Linked DNA regions of Homo sapiens: regions 1 and 3 are each linked to region 2. Evidence: promoter capture Hi-C in human tissues and cell types (Jung and others, 2019). All regions are on one chromosome and are shown on one strand. The core of a region is centred on a gene start or on the middle of the fragment in contact, and the rest is flanking DNA. Distances in the headings are between cores, read along the strand shown.

Region 1 (4,636 bases), core at 1,268-3,767, 180 kb after region 2:
AGGTGCTGTGGTTTCAAAGGGGTTGGGTATTGTTTTTCCCTTTCCTGTTGTTTTTCCCTTTGTCTGTCATCCCATTACTTGGTCCCAGCCATGAATGCCATCATTATAAAAGTGGCAAGGTAGGGAAATAAAAGCCGCAGCGTTTTTGCCAGAGGACTGAAAAAGGTAGCCCCAGAAAACTGGAAAGTACTGGGGAAACTGGAGGGTGAATCTTGGGACAGCAACTCCATAAAGTTACTTATGAACTCCTGAGCTCCCCCAAGTTGAAGGAATCTGTGTAATCTGATCTAAATTGTATTGACAATACCATTTATAATAGCTCCTCTCAAATTGAAAGACTTTAGTATAAATCTACTAAAACATTAGAGAATTTGCATGCTGAAAAACTACAAAGTGCTGATGAAAGAAATCAAGATCAAGTAAATGGACAGACATACCATGTTCATGGATTAGAAGACTCAACGTAGTAAATATGGCAGTGCTCTCTAAATTGATTTATAGATTTAACATGATTCCAACAGAGGTCTCAGCAGAATCTTTTGTAAATGTAGACAAACTGCTTCTAAAATTTATATGGCAAGAAAAAGAATTTAGAAAACCAAAACAATTTTGATGAAGAATAAATTTTGAGGAATCACACTACTGAGTATTAAGATTTACTGTAAAGCCACAGTGATCAATTCAGTGTGATATTGGCAAAGGGACTGACACATGGATCAATGAAACAGGAGAGGAAATTCAGAATTAAGCCCAAACAAATATAGCCAATTAATTTTTGAAAAAGATTTAAATCCAATGGAGAAATGATAATCTTTTCAACAAATGGGGTTGAAACAATTAAATATCCTTATATGTATAAAAAAAAAACCTCAACTTCAACCTCACACCTTATACAAAGATTAACTCAAAATGGATCATAGACCTAAATGGAAAAACATAAACTATAAGATTTTTAGAAGAAAACATAGGCAAAAAAAAAAAAAATTTATGACCTGGTCTTAAGCAAAGTGTTCTTAGATAAGACAGCAAAAGCATGATTCATTAAAAAGAAAAAGATAAATTAGACTTCATCAAAATTTAAAACTTTTGCTTTGTGAAAGACATGGTTAAAAGAATAAAAAGACAAGCTACAGACCAGGAGAAAACGTTTGCAAAACTCATACCCAACAAAGGACTTGTGATCAGAATACACCAAGAATTCTCAAATCTCAACTGTGAGAAAACAAACAACCCAATTTTAAAAATGGACAAAAGACTTGAACGGATACTTGGCCACAAAAGATACATATATGGAGGTGAATAAACGGATGGAAAAATACTCTTGTCATTAATATCAGCCATTAGTGAAATGCAAATAAAAGCCACTACGAGGAATCACAACAAACTCATTAGAATGCCTAAAAAAAATAATACTGACCTGGTGTAGATACAGAGCAACTGGAACTCTCACACATTTTTAGTGGAAATGCAAAATGGTTCAGCCACTCTAAAAACAGTTTGGCAGGTTTTTTATAAGGTTAAGTATATGCTTATAATATGCCCCAGCAATCCCACTCCTTGTATTAACTCTAAAGAGATGAAAACTTATGTTTACACACAAATCCATATACAGATGTTTATATTATTTCTATTTATAATCACCAAACCCCAAAACTCAAATACCCTTCACTGGGTGAATGGATAGACAAATTGTGGAACCTCTGTATGGTGGAATACTACTCAGTCATAAAAAGGACCAATTATAGATACATACGACAACTTAGATGGATCTCAGGGGAATTATGCTGAGTGAAAGAAGCCAGTCTCAAAGATTATATCCTGTATGGTTCCACTAAATGGCATTCTTCGTAAAACAAAACTATAGTGATGAACAAATCAGTAGTTGCCAGGGACTGAGGGGTAACAGGAGCTCTGTGACTCTGAAGAGATAGACCAAAGAAGTCTTTCAGGGAGATGGAATGTTCTGTATCCTGACTGTGGTGGGGGTTAAACAAATCTATATATGTGTTAAAATTCATAGAGGTGTGGTGAACAAAAGTCAATTTTACTGTATACTGATTTACAAAGACACATTTTGAAAGCACGTGAAGAAACTGAACATCTTTTAAAAACCAAAAAGTAGCTGGCGTGGTGGCTCACCCCTGTAATCCCAGCACTTTGGGAGGCCAAGGCAGGCGGATCACGAGGTCAGGAGATCAAGACCATCCTGGCCAACAGAGTGAAACCCCATCTCTACTAAAAATACAAAAATTAGCTGGGTGTGGTAGCACGTGCTTATAATCCCAGCTACTCGGGAAGCTGAGGCAGGAGAATCACTTGAACCCCAGGGAGTTGGAGGTTGCAGTGAGCCGAGATCGCGCCACTGCACTGCACTCCAGCCTGGCAAGAGAGCGAGACTCTGTCAAAAAAAAAAAAAAAAAAAAAAAGTAAATTAGGTAAACTAATCAAGATAATGCTGCAGTGGCTATATTAATATCGAATAAATTAAACTTTAGAATGGGGAATACTGCTGGGAATTAGGAGGGACCTTTTATAACGATAGAGGGGTCAATTCATCCAGAAGACATAACTCTAGATATACTTGTACCTATTAACACCTATTCACATGAAGCAAAAGCTGACTGAACTGCAAGGAGAAATAGGTCCATAATTATTGGTGGAGATTTCGACACTCCCCTCTCAGTGGTTCATAGAACATGTACACAGGAAATCAGTAAAGCTAGAGGAGACTTGGGCTTGGCCTACTTGGCATTTATAGAGCACTCACGTTATTCTCAAGTGCTCTTGGCCATCATAGGCCATATTGTGAGCCATAAGTAAGGCCCAATACATTGAAAAGGATTGTGTTTTCTGACCATAGCAAAATTAAACTAGAGATCAGCAGAAAGATATCTGGAAAATCCCAAATACTTCACTGATAGGGATGCCTGACCAGAAACGTTTGGAGGCCCCTGGCCCCTGGGTGGTCTCTCTGGTCCTTCTTGTTCTGTCCATTCCTGGGTGGCTTCTCTGGTGCTTCTTGTTCTATCCAATCCTGGGTGGTCTCTCTGGTGTTTCTTGTTCTGTCCATTCCCAGGTGGTTTCTCTGGTGCTTCTTGTTCTGTCCAATCCCGGGTGGCTTCTCTGGTGCTTCTTGTTCTGTCCAATCCTGGGTGGTCTCTCCGGTGCTTCTTGTTCTGTCCAATCCTGGGTGGTCTCTCTGGTGCTTCTTGTTCTGTCCAATCCTGGGTGGTCTCTCTGGTGCTTCTTGTTCTGTCCAATCCTGGGTGGTCTCTCCGGTGCTTCTTGTTCTGTCCAATCCTGGGTGGTCTCTCCGGTGCTTCTTGTTCTGTCCAATCCTGGGTGGTTTCTCTGGTGCTTCTTGTTCTGTCGAGGAAGGAGCTGGGAGATGCTGAGCTCCATGGGGTGCAGCGCAGCTACAAATCCATTTCCAGAAATAAGCTTCTGGCTTAAATTCCACTTGGGAATGACAACAGAGGTGAAAACCCAAAGGTGCCATTGGAGCTGGGCGGGGAGACCACTCTCCCCACATTCCCTGCGTGGCCGCTGGTGACTGCCGTCTTTCTTGCAGGAGACCATCCAGTGCCAGACGCCTGCCTCTCGGCCCCTTGCCACAATGGGGGCACCTGTGTGGATGCGGACCAGGGCTACGTGTGCGAGTGCCCCGAAGGCTTCATGGGCCTGGACTGCAGGGAGAGTGCGTCTGGGCTGCAAGGGCTGCCGTTTTAGGGCTGGGGCAGGAGACCCAGGGAGGGCCTTCCTGTGGGTGCATGCAGGAAACGCCCCGAAAAGAAACGTGTGAGTGCGCGTCCACTGCAATTTGTATGGGAAGTTGGCCAGGAGCAGGGCAGGGTCTGGAGCGAGGGTGCCATCTTTCTGCGCCCCCACATGGGAGGCTCCTCCCTCTCTTCGTGGCAGGAGTCCCCGATGACTGTGAGTGCCGCAACGGAGGCAGATGCCTGGGCGCCAACACCACCCTCTGCCAGTGCCCCCTGGGATTCTTTGGGCTTCTCTGTGAATTTGGTAGGTGCCCAGGTCACCCTTCCTGCCCTGTCCCTGAGCATCCTCATAATCGGGAAATGAATGGTGGCTTCGGCCGGGGTCCGTAGGTCCAGACTGTCGACCATTGGTTCTACCCCCACCCAGGAGGGACTGGCCACAAGAGTGCCTGAACCTGTTGGGGCCACTGGGTCTTGGGAGGCCCCATCCTTGACAAGGACTCGAGGTCTGCTGGAAGACATGTGGAATATGGGATGGGGCTTCCTCCTTTCTCTCTAGAAATCACAGCCATGCCCTGCAACATGAACACACAGTGCCCAGATGGGGGCTACTGCATGGAGCACGGCGGGAGCTACCTCTGCGTCTGCCACACCGACCACAATGCCAGCCACTGTGAGTAGCTCGGGGACGAGCCTGCTGGGCCGGGGGCCCGGACAGAAGCCAGGGAGAAAGCGGTGGATGAGGCAGGCAGAGGCCAGAGTCCCTACTTCCCTTCTGACTCTCGGGAGAGCTGGCACCTGGGGAAGCCTCTCTCAATAGCCTTCCTGTAATATGGGGCTAGACATCTCCTCTTCCCCAGTGGAGTAAGCTCACAGGGGGAAAAGCACTTCTGCAAGTATACAAACACCATGTGGTA
Region 2 (4,843 bases), core at 2,111-4,610:
GCTTTGCCGTCCACAACCTGCTACTCCAAGCCATGTAGATTCTTCTTCGTAAGCACACCCTGTCTCCAATCAAACTGTACTGTTGGGATTTCATTATTCTTCTCACCACTCCTTCCCACCCCGACCATTTCCTTCTGTGCTGGTAAATTGGAAACCACCTCCCTCTTCGTGCTATCATATTACTTCCCCCACCATCCACACTTACAATATCACTGAAACTTCCTTAACTTGTAATGTTATTTTGGGAGGTACACCTTGTTATAATGACACTCATGCAGCTAACTTTGACTCATTTGAGGCCTTCGCCTCCTACAATCAAAACTCTGACTCTGGCCAGGTGCGCTGGCTCACACCTGTAATCCTAACACTTTGGGAGGTAGAGGTGGGTGGATCACCTGAGGTCAGGAGTTCGAGACCAGTCTGACCAACATGGTGAAACCCTGTCTCTACTAAAAATACAAAAATTAGCAGGGCGTGGTGGCAGGTGCCTGTAATCCCAGCTACTCAGGAGGCTGAGGCAGGAGAATCGCTTGAACCCAGGAGCAGAGGTTGCAGTGAGCCAAGGTCACACCACTTCACTCCAGCCTGGGCAACTGAGTGAGACTCCATCTCAAAAAAAAAAAAAAAAAAAATCTGACTCTATCTCATCACTGCCAATTTATAAGCCGTTAAACTGGACCAGTATAGTGGGGCTCCCAGTATACAGCACCCCTGCACTCCTAATACCTTCATGTATGTTACTATAATGATGCAACCAGTGCAGGAAATAACCACCGTGCCACCTGGTTTACATCCTATGCCATGCACTGGCACCCGCCTGCTTTTAAACCTCCTCCATCAGTACATAAACATAGTCTTTCCCCCATATGAGTCCTCTTAAAACTGTCAAAAGGCCCATTTCCTTTTTTCCCAACATTTTAATTAAAATAATCATCCTGCCCCTCCTGGGCTCTTATGGCTTAGCAGCCCCACTAAAAACTATTTAAACCCTTTTCAAGCTTTGGCCCTATCCCACCTTGATCATTCTCTTCACTATGGTGATTGTAGCCTGGGAACAATAGCTCCCACCCAAATCACTGTCTTAAACATCACTTCTAATTCAGAATTCCCTTCTAGAAGGAAAAGGGCCCTGGGACTTACTGTGGCCGGAGTTGTGGGAACTATCACAACTCTTACCCCTTGGGGAGGTTTTACTTACCAGGAAATCACAAGTAAGAGAACCTACCGCCTCCCTTGAAATAGCAAAAGCTGGCACCCATCTATCAGCTCTACAAGTCATTAGACTCACAAGCAGGATTTTGGTGTCTGGTAACAGGTGAGTTCTGGATTACCTCCTAGCTGAACAAGGAGGGGTCTGTGCTGTCATCAACAGGACCCGTTGCACCTACATTTATGTGTCTGGAGAAGTGGAAACCGATGCCCAAGAAATCATCAAACAAGCCAAATGGCTACACACACTTTCCCAAAGCAACCAAGACTGGGCCAAAACTTTTACTGATTGGTTTTCAAAAAATCACTTGGCTTCCCCCATTCCTTAGACCTTTATCTTCTGTCATTTTTCTTTTAATATTTGGTCCCTGCCTTTTTAATGCTCTGATTGCTTTTCTATGTTCTACATGAGAACAATTCCACCTGCAGAAGGCTATGCATTCCCAACACTGGCCTGCAACTGCAGCTCGATTTACATGGGGCTTCTTGATGGAAATACCGGCCTGCAACTGCAGCTCCCATTTACGTGGGGCTTCTTGATGGAATCCCATCACGTGCCTCCGTGCACAAGTTTTCATGACCCTTTATTCCCTTCATGACCGAGAGCAAGAAAGGGAAAAACGTGACCTACCCCCCTGAACTCCCTTTCAGCAGCAAGTAGTCAGGCGCACTGGACACCCCTCTTCACTGTGCCGTTTCCCCTTTCTTGAGACCCCAACAGGAAGCAGGTGGACATGAGCATGGCAGAAAAGGAAGGGTCAAAGATTTCACCAAGATATTTGTCAGAGGGAAAATGAGGACAGCAAAGATCACCTGGAGACCATCAAGCAGGCCCCAGGTGGGGTGGGTGGAGGGGAGCCTCTTTATTTGAGAAATGTAGAATGAATTAGACTTCCCTATTATCTAAAGTTGGCACCTGGTTCCAGGCCTCTTTTCAACCTAAAACTTATACATAACTAGAATTTCTATACATCTCTGGAATGCAGCATGCTGAAACTCACTGTGCAACCCCTGCCTTGTGTGTGTCTGTATACCATGCAGGTTTGCTTGCTAAATTGAGCCTGTAAACCAAAAAGTACCTCAAACAGGTCTCAATTAATTTAGAAAGTTTTTGTTGCCAAGGCTAAGGATGCACCCGTGGTACAGCCTCAGGAGGGAGGACATCCTTGCCAAGCTCAAGGGTGCACCCCTGACCACAAGGGCCCAAGGTGGTCGGGGCACAGCTTGCTTTTATACATTTTAGGGAGATATGAGGCATCAATCAATACATGGGAGATTTACATTGGTTCCATCTGGAAGGGCGGGACAACTTGAATTGGGGGGCTTCCAGGTCATAGGTAGATTTAAACATATTTTGATTGGCAACTGACTGAAGAATTATTATCAGCAGAAAGGAGTGTCTGGGTTATGAAATAGGGGTTGCAGGGAGCAGATGATGCCTTCAGGTAGCGGGATTTAGAGAGAAAATAGATGGTAAATGCTTCCTATCAGACTTAAGGTCTATGTCGATGTTAATGCTGGGGGTTATGATGTGGCATGGCCTGAACGTCTTCCGGGTTAAAGTTTAGAGCACCCTGGCGGACAGGGAACCCCATTCAGATGGTTGCTGGGGGGCCTTCGAATTTTATTTTTGGTTTACAAGCCTTCCCATCAGCTGCGCCAGGGTCAGCAAACCACAGTCCATGGGCCCAATCTGGCCTGCCACCTGCTTTTTGTAAATAAAGTTTTATAGGAACACGCCCACACCTCTGGCAGCTGCTTTGCAAGCACGCAGCAGGGTTGAGTTGTTGCAACATAGACCACAGGGCCTGCCAAGCCTCAATTATCTGTGCTCCGACCCTTTAAGAAACACTTCTCTCACCCCTGAGCTAAGCAGAATAAGAGGGGCTGGACGTGCAGGACTCAGAGTGGGAGCGAGGAGGGCTGGGGTGAGGACAGCTTTGTCACACTCTGTTTTTCTGTCACTCAGCCCTGGGGGCTCCCTCTGCCTGAGGGCTTCGTCCCCTGCTGCCTGGCCGTGACCCGCAGCACAAGCACAGATAAGCCTCAGGGAACAAAAGGCAGGGCTGCCACGGAAGCCCATCCACCAATCCTCACCTCTCACCTCTGTGTCCGCCCTGCTGGGAAATATTCCAGGCTTTGGCCAAGGCCAGTGCAGCCCCAGGTTCCCGAGCGGCAGGTTGGGTGCGGACCATGGCCTCTCACAAGCTGCTGGTGACCCCCCCCAAGGCCCTGCTCAAGCCCCTCTCCATCCCCAACCAGCTCCTGCTGGGGCCTGGTCCTTCCAACCTGCCTCCTCGCATCATGGCAGCCGGGGGGCTGCAGATGATCGGGTCCATGAGCAAGGATATGTACCAGGTAGGAGTGGGGGTCACTCGGGGGGCCTGGGTCTCACCCATGTTCCCACCCACAGATCGTGGACGAGGGAAGGGGGTCACTGCCTCCTCACTTGGGGAGGCGGGGAGCCTGGGTCTCACCCTATACCACCCGCATGCAGATCATGGACGAGATCAAGGAAGGCATCCAGTACGTGTTCCAGACCAGGAACCCACTCACACTGGTCATCTCTGGCTCGGGACACTGTGCCCTGGAGGCCGCCCTGGTCAATGTGCTGGAGCCTGGGGACTCCTTCCTGGTTGGGGCCAATGGCATTTGGGGGCAGCGAGCCGTGGACATCGGGGAGCGCATAGGTAAGGGAGAGGCCCAGGTGGGGATGGCCCTGGATCCATCCTTCAAGGCCTCCCTGGCCTCCCTCTGTTTGAAGCTGGCAGCCCCCGTTCCTGGGTGAGCGCTTACCCACCTTGTGGCCCTGTGCGCACGAACCTCCTGCCAGCCCACTGCCTCCTCCAGGCGGTGTCGGGCACTCATGAGGCCTGACTCTGATAGGGCTGGGAGCAGCACAGGTGCCCCGATCCCCCCAGTCTCCTTGAGCTGTTTCTGGAGCATGTGCAGGACGGAACTACAGGGAAGCCTCTGGTCCCAGCACACACTCCTGAGAGCCCCGGCCGCTGTCCAGGGCCCCAGGCACCAGCTCTGCTTTGTGACAGGGTGGGGTTTCAGAAGCTGAAGCCTCCCCTCAAATCTCAGCAGCCTTCCTTCTGGAATCTTGATGTGATACACAAAATATGGAGGTATGGGCAGAGTATTCGCCTCCGGAGTACACTTTTCTGGGAGAGACACAGGAGCAGGAGTGTGCCCTGGGTTTAATGATTGATTGTGGCATTGAGGGACATCAGCTTGGTGAGCTCCACAATGGCCATGCTGGTTAATACGCGACCGCAACAGCCAAGAGGGTCCCAACCCCAAGTCCACAAACTTTTCAAGGGGACCCAGGGTCGGCAGAGGCCAGGACCCCAAGTGGACATCAGGGCACGCAGGCTCAGATGCCTGTGGTATATGGCTTCCCTTTTCCCCATTCTGTCCCCTTGGCCGCAGGTTCTTCCCCTCCCACAACCTGGCCCTGAACAGCACACAGGATAGGGCAGAGACAGGGAGGGGGTGAGGGCCTGATTCCTGGAGTCCCCAGCTCCAACAGAGGTCAAGGCTGCTGCCTCACTCACCCCTCATCCTTCAGTCTGTCATCCATCACACCTGTGGTGTGCCAGCCCTGGACCAGGTACACTCTTTGTGCCAG
Region 3 (4,897 bases), core at 662-3,161, 240 kb after region 2:
TTTGGTTTACAGGCAGATGAGACAGTGATCGGGCACGTCAGCAGACAGTCTCCACTCAGGCCCTACAAATGAACCACAATCTTCCTTTCCGTTTTGCTTTCCTCTCTAAAGTCCCCCGAGAGGAGGCCCTGCCCAGGCCGGCCCCCGACTCACAGGCTCCCCAGACTGCAGAGATGCAAACTCAGCCACACACCCAAGGACGCCGCTTCTCCCCACAGCAGAGCAGAGGCTCAGCTGGCCCACTCCAGTGACATGGAGTCTGGCTGGTCAGCGACAGCCCCTCCAGCCAAGGGCTCCACCTTCAGCACGAATCCTCTGCCTCGGGACTTTCTCTAGTGCTTGATTTCTTGTATGGTCAGCCCCGCGGTATTTTATTGAAATAGATATTATTCCTGTCATCAAAATAAATAAACCTAACTAAAAAGAATCCTCTTCACTTATTTGAAGAGTGCCATTTTGGGGGACTCTTCAATATTTTTCTTGGCTTTTTATTATATGAAACTCCAAACAAATAAAAGCTGAGAAAATAAAATTATTAACTCCTATATCCATCGCCCAGTGCCTTTGCCCAATATGACCTTGCCTGCCTGCCCACTTACTTTCCAGCATATCACCCTGACCACTCAACACTCATCACAAAGAGGCACAAAGGAAGCCATTTTCCCACCCAAAATCAAGCCACCCTCAGGGTCCTGACAGAGGACACGAGGACGGGCCGCACCGCAGCCGCATACGTACGGATTCCCCATGAGAACTTCCGGTGCACAGTACTCGATGGTCCCACAAAAAGTATAAAATAATTTTCCCCTTTCCAAGTAGGCGGCCGAGCCAAAGTCTATCAGCTTGATTGTGAAGTCCTCGGCGATCACGATGTTCTCATCCTTGATGTCACGGTGGATGATGTCCTTCAAGCGCAGGTATCCCACTGCTGACACTAGCTGGAATCAGGAGGCCAGAGGGGGCTTTTTAAAAAAGCAATTCAACTAAAATATGCATTTAAAATAAACTGGAACAAAAAAAAACACAAAGAAAAAATAAACCTCCGACTCATAATGAACTGGGGACAGGAAAGATTTTTCAATGCTGAAGATATGATTGGAAGCAAACAGGAAACAAAGCCCTTCAGGAGGCGTGTTCACTGGGGATGGCCACGTTAGCCGGCAAGGTGGCAACATCAATGAGACTCGTGAGTTCTGTTTGCTGCTGAGAAAAGCTTCCCAGCAGACACTCGCCCCCACCAACGCACACCATGCCTATTTCAGGAGGAAAGACAGGCCACAAAGCCACAGCTCAAAGACACTCATGGTGGGCAAGTGAATGGGTGCAGGTTTGGTGTTAAGTGGGAAGTACCCAAGAGAAAGCACCAAGTCGATAACCTCAGCTCACAGGGAGGGAAAGTGACTTGCCCAGAGTTCAGGCAGCAATTTGGGGCAGAGCTGGGAGCACAGCCTCAGTGGCTTCTCAGAGAGCAGCATGACGTATCAGCCATCCTTTCCCCAAATGTGTGGCTACTCAATGATGCAGACTTAAAGCAGTTACACTGGAAACGGGCTTCGTTCCCACGGAGGTGCAGCTGCAGTGCTCCACTGCCTGCCCACTCTGCCTCTCCAATAACAGAGGCCAGCAACATCGGCCTTTCAGTTTAGCTCAACTAGGATGAATTAAACGTCTGACTGTCATAATTTGGACACCCATTATACCAATCAACTTAGTGACTTCATGGATGTATCATGTTGATCTTTTGAGACAAATTTATATTTACAAATGAGTATCTTTCAAATCAGGAGCAATAATCACAGGTTAGCTAAGCCCGATTAACTTACATTTAATAAATATACGCATATTTATACACATATATACAAACATATACATACCTGCATATTTATATATACATACCTGCATATTTATATATACATACCTGCATATTTATACATACATTTAGATACATACATGTGCACATATATACACACCTGCATACACACGTGTGCATACCTATACACATAACATATACTTGTACATAGGTACACACATAAATACACATATACAAGCATGCATGCATACATACTTACATATATATGTAGATATATACAAATCAGTCAGGATCCAATCAGGAGACAGAAATCACACATGAACTTGAACATGGAAAGTTTCATTAAGATTTATTAACTAGTACTGAGAGATTAACCACAAAGGGCTAAAGAGCGACTTGAAGAAAGCTGCTCTTCCTGCAGATGCTTCTGTGCCCTGGACTGGCCATGCTGCCCTGGAGCGGCCTGAACCAAGCCAGGGCTGTTCCCAGGCCCAGCTCCCCGACCCCGCTGCTGAGCAGGTCCTGATGAATCTGGAGCTGACAGGCAATGCCCTGAGAACCAGCATGATTCCTACATACATTGATGTGCGATCATATACTTTATAAAATTGTGCATCTGTATTTACATAGAATAACATTTATGTCTATATATTTACAAAAGGGGTAGAGATTCTTTTGGCAAAAATTTTAGAGTATAAACACCATAATTATGTGTCTCACTAGCCCCAGAATTAACAGCTGTCAGGCAGCAGCTTTTAACAAGCGACCCTCAACATAACCTCATACAGATACTCTGTTTGCTGTAAAAAGTTTCAGAAACAAGTGTTGGCCACAAACTAAAGGGAGGACGTCACCTTCCAACACAGGAAGAGGGAGAGAGGTGACCCTTTTTTGCAGAACCATAATATCTGAAACTTACAAGTAGGAGCCTGAGAAACTAAACTTCGGAAACCCAACAACCCGAGAGTGTGTAGCTTTAAGGAAGAAATGTTGATTCACGGAAGCTGTCATTAGAAATCGAGTTGTCCCCAGCAAACAATCCAAGAGCAAATGTGAGTTGTCTACACAGCCCTTTGCTGGTATTTCTCCAGTTCTTCTGGGGGAGCTGGGAGCAGTACAGGATGGAACCGCCACCCTCTCCTTAAAACCCAACACGAGTTACCGTTTCTTCCCCCTGTCCCTCTGCTAGGGTGCCTTCCTATTTGGATCATCACTCTCCCATTCCAATAAAATAATGGCCGAAGTTCAATATGTAATTAGACACGAAACAGATCAAGACAAATACTTACTGAAAAGTGAGAATGTCAGGATCTCAGTTTTGCTGGTTAATTACCTCAACAGCCACCATTTAGTGGGCACTTACAACCTGCAGGCCGCTGTGCCGCACACATGCCTTTGAGACGCTCTCTGGCTGCATCCTAACCCTTACTGGTTAATTTTTATGATTGTTGTGGATATTTTATGTATGTAAATAAACCTTAACCATTAAACATACTTTCTCAGTCATTCCAGGACTGTATCTGGCCTCATCCTTCCTTCCCAACCTCACTTTCTCTACTTCAATCATAGAATTTTCTTCTCAAAATATATATCCTACTCCATGAAATCCCCACACAGAAGGCTAGATCCAGCTCAGAGAGAGAACCGAGTATGGATCACTGATCTTTGCAGCCACCGGACCCAGGCACCCAGGCCTGCGTTCACACTAACACGGCTCTGGCCTGCTCTCACTTGTCGGAAGATGTAGCTCGCCAGGGGCTCATCCAGCCTGGGGTGGCGGTCGATGAAAGCGAAGAGGTCTAGGCCGGAGCCGTGCTTCTCCATCACAAGCTGGAAGAACCCTTGGTTTTCAAATATATCCAATACCTAGGAAGAGACAAAGCCAAGTCCAACTCTACCAAAACATCTTCAAGTCAACAAATTGAAGACATTTGACATGAGCCAAGTTAGGGTATCTCTGAAGAGGAAACCATCACCTTGATGATATTGGCGTGCTCCACCCTGGATAGAATTGCGATCTCTAAAGTAACTTTCCCAAGTTTGGGATCCTCAATCCAACAATCCTCCAAGACCTTCTCCTTCTTAATAAACTTCACCACCACCTGTGAGGAAGACAGAGCGTAGTGGAAATAGCTGGAGCCAGTCCTCAAGCATCCCATTGCACCAGGGCCACCCAGTCCTCAAGCATCCCATTACACCAGGGCCACCCGGTCCTCAAGCATCCCATTACACCAGGGCCACCTGGTCCCCAAGCATCCCATTACACCAGGGCCACCCGGTCCCCAAGCATCCCATTACACCAGGGACACCCAGTCCTCAAGCATCCCATTACACCAGGGACACCCGGTCCTCAAGCATCCCATTACACCAGGGCCACCCAGTCCTCAAGCATCCCATTACACCGGGGCCACCCGGTCCCCAAGCATCCCGTTACACCAGGGGCCACCGGTCCTCAAGCATCCCATTACGCCAGGGCCACCCGGTCCCCAAGCATCCCGTTACACCAGGGGCCACCCAGTCCTCAAGCATCCCATTACGCCGGGGCCACCCGGTCCCCAAGCATCCCGTTACGCCAGGGGCCACTCGGTCCTCAAGCATCCCGTTACACCAGGGGCCACCATCAGTCCTCAAGCATCCCATTACGCCGGGGCCACCTGGTCCTCAAGCATCCCATTACACCAGGGGCCACCATCGGTCCTCAAGCATCCCATTACGCCAGGGCCACCCAGTCCTCAAGCATCCCATTACACCAGAGACACCCAGTCCTCCAGCATCCCATTACACCAGGGACACCCAATCCTCAAGCATCCCATTACACCAGGGCCACCCAGTCCTCAAGCATCCCATTCCACCAGGGCCACCCAGTCCTCAAGCATCCCATTACACCAGGGCCACCATTGGTCCATGCGGCAGACACATCCCCTGCATTTACCTCCCCTAAGTCCCACGGACATGAAAGAAGAAACAAAGTGATAAACGCCTGCAGCACAAGGAAGCACAGAAGGGGGTCAGCAGCTGACCAGAAATGCAGCGTCATTACTGCCCATTCTGTAAGGTGGACAGATGGGTGAGATGGAGAATCCAGGT

The links. The method cuts DNA at HindIII sites, captures the fragments that hold promoters and counts their contacts. A contact is called where the count stands out against the background at its distance.
Region 1: a contact is called between a fragment that was not itself captured here and the fragment with the promoter of AGXT in region 2, in 1 of the 25 tissues and cell types used here (IMR-90 fibroblasts).
Region 3: a fragment that was not itself captured here is called in contact with the fragment with the promoter of AGXT in region 2 in 2 of the 25 tissues and cell types used here (IMR-90 fibroblasts and small bowel).

What each region holds. Positions count from the first base shown.
Region 1 is chr2:241,044,744-241,049,379 of GRCh38, forward strand. It overlaps SNED1 (sushi, nidogen and EGF like domains 1), which reads left to right. Exons shown (of 32, transcript NM_001080437.3): 9 at 3,572-3,697; 10 at 3,919-4,023; 11 at 4,279-4,392. All of the region lies in intron 1 of SNED1-AS1 (SNED1 antisense RNA 1), which reads right to left. It also overlaps a transcript of MTERF4 not described here. Among named protein-coding and RNA genes, the nearest start is that of SNED1-AS1, 17 kb to the right of the region's middle. The HindIII fragment of the contact is 7,636 bases long and covers 1-4,636 here.
Region 2 is chr2:240,865,464-240,870,306 of GRCh38, forward strand. It overlaps AGXT (alanine--glyoxylate aminotransferase), which reads left to right and starts at 3,361. Exons shown (of 11, transcript NM_000030.3): 1 at 3,361-3,567; 2 at 3,707-3,899. The coding sequence starts at 3,403. RefSeq lists an enhancer at 2,880-3,380. The HindIII fragment of the contact is 24,692 bases long and covers 1-4,843 here.
Region 3 is chr2:241,111,502-241,116,398 of GRCh38, forward strand. It overlaps PASK (PAS domain containing serine/threonine kinase), which reads right to left. Exons shown (of 18, transcript NM_015148.4): 13 at 3,787-3,912; 14 at 3,542-3,676; 15 at 739-938. Among named protein-coding and RNA genes, the nearest start is that of MTERF4, 12 kb to the left of the region's middle. RefSeq lists an enhancer at 148-197. The HindIII fragment of the contact is 3,445 bases long and covers 190-3,634 here.